Linked DNA regions of Homo sapiens: region 2 is linked to region 1. The links are contacts of gene promoters, found by promoter capture Hi-C in human tissues and cell types (Jung and others, 2019). All regions are on one chromosome and are shown on one strand. Each heading gives the region's core, a stretch centred on a gene start or on the middle of the fragment in contact. The rest is flanking DNA. Distances are from core to core; before and after follow the strand shown. Region 1 holds the start of TRIM9 (tripartite motif containing 9). Region 2 has its middle 43 kb from the start of LINC02319.

Region 1 (2,907 bases), core at 351-2,850:
CCTCTCCGCTCTGTCTTTTGAGCACGTGGCACCAGGACCCCGCGTTCTCTCCAGCTCGAGAGCCAGGTCTGGCCCAGAGCCGGGCTCATCAGTATTCCGCCTGCGGCGTCTCCCCGACCCTCCGCCGTGCCTCACCAGGTCCGCCTATCCAGCAGCGACAGACTCCCGCCGTCCGCGCGACCCCACCGCCCCCATCCCAGTCCCTCCCCGAGGGTTCGCAGCCCGCCCTGCCCTCGAGCGTGCCTAGCGGCCCTGGGCACTGGCGCGGCTCTACCCAGCTATGCAGTGCTTTCCCACACACTGGCCGCGGCCACTGGCTGCAGACCCGCCGCGGAAAGGGGGCGCCCTGAGTCCCGCTCGCAGGCAGCGCGCCCCGAGAGACCCGCTCTAAGGCATCCCCGCAACAACTCTGTGGGGGCATTCAACTCCCCCGTGCGCCGGTTAAGATTCCCCCATGCCTCCTGCAATGCACCAGACCAGGGAGGTAAACATCGAAGGCACCTGCATTGCGCCCCCACTGGGATGCGCTGTGCGCAAGAGACGGGGACCGTCTGCTGCAAAACCGGATGATCGGAGACGCAGGGAGTTAGGAGTGGGTTTTCTTAGGACTCACCTTATGTAGTTTCCACATGGCCCCCAGAGCCTTGACTTCGTGGCTGGAGTGTTTGCCCTCCTCCAAGCACTGGTAGCACACGGGCATCTTGCATTGCACGCAGTACATGCTGTGGTTCTCCAGCTCGTGGTCTGTGCAGGTGGAGACCTTGCGTGGGCTCAGCCTCCGGCTCACACGACCCTGGGCCGGGGGCACCAGGCGGTGCTTGGCTAGGGGCCCCCGGGGCGGGTGGCAGCGCAGGCGGCACGGATCGCAGTAGAAGACATCGCACTGTTCGCACATGACGGTGGCTTCCTTGGGCGCCTTCTCGCAGAGCTGGCACTTGAGGGCCGCGGCTTTGCTCTGCTGGTAGCGGTCAATTACCCCTTCCAGTACGCGATTCTTGGGGAAGCCGCGGAGCCCCCGGTCATCCAGGATGAGGCTGCGGTGACACTGGGGGCAGGTGATACAGGAGTTGCGGGGCACCGGGGCCAGGGCCGGTGACAAGTGGGTGGCCGGTGGCGGCATAGCCGGGGGAAACACGCGGACGCCGTTGGGGGACTTCTGGCACGGGGTAGTGGGGGCGCTGGCGAACCCCCCGTAGGAGCCATAGCCGCTGTCCGCCTCGCTGTATAGGCTCATCTTGTCCAGGTCCAGATAGTCATAGTCGGAGACCCCGGAGCCCGCGGCCCGATGGCTCTGGGGGGATTCAGACTCTGGGGTCTGCACCAGGATGTTGCGGGCGCACGCCTGACACAAATTGTGAGAGCAGGGCAGGATGATGGGCTCCCGATAGAAGGAGCCGCACACGGGGCATTTCAACTCCTCTTCCATCTCCTCCATGGGGACCGGTCTGGGAGGAGACAGCGACGGCTGCAGCGGGTGCCTGAGCTGGCGAGGTGGCCGACGGGCCCGTCTTGTCCAGCACCCTGGCCAGCGGCGGCGGCTGTGGTGGTGGTGCCTTCCCGCGCAGCACTGGCACGGACACCCAGAGAGGCGCTAGCTCTGTGAGCCGCAGCCGCGTAGCCGCCGCGCCGCGCGCCAGCCCGGACCGCCCCTACCTGCCCTCCTAGTCCCGCCCCGGCCCATGAGCAGCGGCCCATTGGGCGGGGGGCAAGAGATCGAAGCTCTCATTGGCCACCAGACCCGTCCGTCTCCTCGTCTCCGCAGGCCACAGGGGGTTCGGTAGAGTCTGAGGATAGGGCAGTCTTCGCTCGCGGCTGCAAGATCTCTGAAGGGGGCCGGCGTGCGGAGGCTAGGGGACCGGGAAGGAGGAGTTAGGCGGGATGATTCATCCTCGCCCGGCTTACTTCCGACCTCCGGTGCAGTCTCCCAGGAGCTGGGGGCGTGAGAAACCCCTCCCCGCAGCGAGTGGGCTGCCGGAGGGGGCTGGGGCTTCTCGCCAGCGTTTGCGTTTGGCTCCCAGCTCTGAGCTCCGCGCCCACCTACCGCGGGCGAGTGCTGCGCAGCACGGAGGACGCCCCTTCTCTTCCGCTGCTGGCAGCCTTCGCAGGCGTCTCACCCGGGCCTAGGCTTCTGCACGGCAGTGGGGCTTTTCTCCTTCTCCGTGAATCCGCTGACGCCGTGCCCTGGAGCTCCCCCATCCCGGGAGTCTGACGGCGCTGGCGCAAGCCCTGGCGACACTCTTGGCTTCTTTCATCCTGCGTCCCTCGTTTCCTAAAGAGCATGTATAAAGTCGATTTCCTAGTGTCGACATGAGATTCAACTGGGTAACCGATGGAAATGGTCAGCATTAGTCAGAATCTATGACCCCTTCGTTTCATGCTTTAAATTATAGCTCGGCCCAGAGGCCTCAGTGCCGTGGTGTGAACGTGCTTCCTTCCACGGATCCTTCTTCCTCCTCGCGGCCTCCCAAAGCACCTGGCTGAGCTTTTTCGAGGCCCGCTGGGCCTTTGGTTCGGTTGAGGCAAGAACAGTTTGTCTATTTCTGAGTGCCCGTAGTTTAGTAAAGCTCTGTAAATGAATCACTGTGTGACTGCGGAGTCTCAGTGTTTCACTCCAAACAGCATTATTCAACCCCACGTGCCCTGGGCATCTGCCATAGCTTACAGCATCGTGTGCCTTTCTGTTTCTTCCAACGAGGGGCATGGTGAGGCGGTGATTCTAGTGTTAGTCCCTGTACAAGGAGGGAGGGAGGGAGGGAAGAAGGGAAAGAGGGAGAGAGGGAGGAAGGAAGGGGGGGGGAAAGGAAAGGCGGAAGGAAGGGAAGAAAGGGAGGGAGGAAGAAGAAAAGGAAAGGAAAATCTTTGAGTCAAGTGACATTCTGAGGTAGTAACATTTGAAATAGTACATAG
Region 2 (2,991 bases), core at 225-2,724, 1.1 Mb after region 1:
AGCAGCTGCAGAGGGTGTGCCAGGTCCCTCAGCACTGCCAGCCCACCCGCGCCATGTTCGAATTCTTGCCAGGCCTCAGCCACCTCCCCACAGGGCAGGGCTCAGGACTTGCAGCCTGCCATGCCTGAGCCCCCCTGTGGTGGGCTCCCAAGTGTCCCAAGCCTCCCTGATGGGCACCGCCCCCTGCTCCACAGTGCCCGGTCCCATCGACTGCCCAAGGGCTGAGGAGTGCAGGCGTGCAGCACGGGATTGGCAGGCAGCTCCATCCGCAGCCCTGGGGTGGGATCCACTAGGAGAAGCCAGCTGGGTTCCTGAGTTGGGTGGGGACTTGGAGAACTTTTATGTCTAGCTGGAGGATTGTAAATGCACCAATCAGCACTCCGTGTCTAGCTTGGGGTTTGTAAACGTACCAATCAGTGCTGTGTCTTGCTAATCTGGTGGGGACTTGGAGAACTTTTATGTCTAGCTAGAGGATTGTAAATGCATCAATCAGCACTCTGAGTTTAGCTCAGGGATTGTAAATCAACCAATCAGCACTCTGTGTCTAGCTAAAAGTTTGTGAATGCACCAATCAGTGCTCTGTGTCTAGCTAATCTGGTGGGGACTTGGAGAGCTTTTATGTCTAGCTGGAGGATTGTAAATGCCCCAGTCAGCACTCTGTGTCTAGCTCAGGGTTCGTGGATGCACCAATCAACACTCTGTATCTAACTAATTGGGTGGGGACTTGGAGAACTTTTATGTCTAGCTGGAGGACTGCAAATGCACCAGTCAGCACTCTGTATCTAGCTCAAGATTTGTAAACACACCAATCAGCACTCTGTATCTAGCTCAAGGTTTGTAAAGGCACCAATCAGCACCCTGTGTCTAGCTCAAGGTTTGTAAATGCACCAATCAGTGCTCTGTGTCTAGCTAATCTAGTGGGGACTTGGAGAACTTTTACATCTAGCTAGAGGATTGTAAATACACCAATCAGCACTCTGTGTCTAGCTCAGGGATTGTAAATGCACCAATCACCACCCTGTCAAAATGGATCAATCAGCTCTCTGTAAAATGGACCAATCAGCTCTCTCTAAAATGGACCAATCAGCTCTCTGTAAAATGGGCCAATCAGCAGGATGTGGGTGGGGTCAGATAAGGGAATAAAAGCAGGCTGCCCGAGCCAGCAGCGGCAACCCGCTCGGGTCCCCTTCCACACTGTGGAAGCTTTGTTCTTTCACTCTTTGCAATAAATCTTGCTGCTGCCCACTCTTTGGGTCTGCACTGCCTTTATGAGCTGTAACACTCACGACGAAGGTCTGCAGCTTCACTCCTGAGGCCAGCCAGCAAGACCATGAACCCACTGGGAGGAATGAACAACTCTGGATGGGAGGAATGAACAACTCCAGACATGCTGCCTTAAGAGCTGCAACACTCACTGTGAAGGTCTGCAGCTTCACTCCTGAAGCCAGCGAGACCATTAACCCATAAGAAGGAACAAACTCCGGACACACCACCTTTAAGAACTGTAACACTCACCACGAGGGTCCACGTCTTCATTCTTGAAGTCAGTGAGACCAAGAACCCACCAATTCCGGACACAATATCATTTTTGATGGTGGCCATTGTTAAGCCTGTAGAACCTATACCTTTAAAATGGTTAACAGATAAGCCAATTTGGATAGAACAATGGCCACTAAGTAAAGAGAAACTGGAGGCTTTAGAGGACTTCGTTAATGAACAATTAGAAAAAGGACACATAGCTCCAACATTTTCCCCTTGGAATTCTCTAGTTTTCATAATTAAGAAAAAATCAGGTAAATGGAGAATGTTAACTGATTTAAGAGCCATTAATTCAGTTATACCACCTATGGGAGCATTACAGCCATAGCATCTCCTGCTATGATTCTAAAAAATTGGCCTTTAATAGTCATAGATTTAAAAGACTGTTTCTTTACTATCCCCTTAGCTGAGCAAAACTGAACGGTTTACATTTACAATTCCTGCAGTAAACAACCTGCAGCCTGCTAAGCATTTTCATTGGAAAGGTTGCCACAAGGCATGTTAAACAGTCCAACAATTTGCCAGACTTATGTAGGGCAAGCAATTGAACCTACTCATAAAAAATTTTCATGTGTTACATTATTCATTATATAGACAATATACTTTGTGCTGCCCCCACTTGAGAAATATTACTCCAATGTTATGATCACATGCAAAATTTGATTTCTCATGCTGGTTTAATTATAGCTCCTGACAAAATTCATACTACTAATCCTTACTCCTAATTGGGGACCTTAGTTAATGACATTACCATTGTGCCACAGAAAGTAGCCATATATAGGGATCAGTTGAAAGTGTTAAATGACTTTCAAAAATTACTAGGGGACATTAATTGGATACCACCTGCTCTAGGTATTCCTACCTCTGCCATGAGTAATCTATTTTCTATCCTTAAAGGAGATCCTAGTCTCACTAGCCCTCGACAATTAATAAAAGAAGCTGAAGTAGAGCTGCAGCTAATCAAAAAGCAAGTCCGTAAAGCTCAAATAAATACAATAGATCCAGAGAAGACTCTAGATTTGCTAATTTTTCCAACTCAGCATTCACCTTCTGGTGTTACTGTCCAAGAGCAGGACTTAGTAAAGTAGCTTTTTCTTCCACATACTAATTCACAGACTCTAACTCCTTGTTTGGATCAAATTGCTACTATGATAGAACATAGGAGAACTCAGATTGTTAAATTACATGAATATGATCCTGGAAAAGTTATTGTCACTCTCACAAAGGCACAAATACAGCAAGCTTTTGTAAATAGTCTTACTTGGCAAACCCGTTTAGCTCACTTTGTGGGTATTCTCGATAATCATTTTCCTAAAATGAAACTGTTTCAATTTTTGAAATTAACTAGTTGGATTCTCCCTAAAATAACTAAATTTAAACCAATTGAAGGTGCTGGGAATGTTTTTACACTTGGGTCTAGTAATGGTAAAGCTTCTTATTCCGGATGAAAAG

Evidence for each region. The method cuts DNA at HindIII sites, captures the fragments that hold promoters and counts their contacts. A contact is called where the count stands out against the background at its distance.
Region 2: a contact is called between a fragment that was not itself captured here and the fragment with the promoter of TRIM9 in region 1, in 1 of the 25 tissues and cell types used here (heart left ventricle).

Annotation. Positions count from the first base shown.
Region 1 is chr14:51,093,505-51,096,411 of GRCh38, forward strand. TRIM9 (tripartite motif containing 9) reads right to left here and starts at 1,601. Exons shown (of 13, transcript NM_001387360.1): 1 at 614-1,601. The coding sequence starts at 1,435. RefSeq lists a silencer at 1,593-1,662. The HindIII fragment of the contact is 24,626 bases long and covers 1-2,907 here.
Region 2 is chr14:52,166,894-52,169,884 of GRCh38, forward strand. No RefSeq gene overlaps it. Among named protein-coding and RNA genes, the nearest start is that of LINC02319, 43 kb to the left of the region's middle. The HindIII fragment of the contact is 3,055 bases long and covers 1-2,991 here.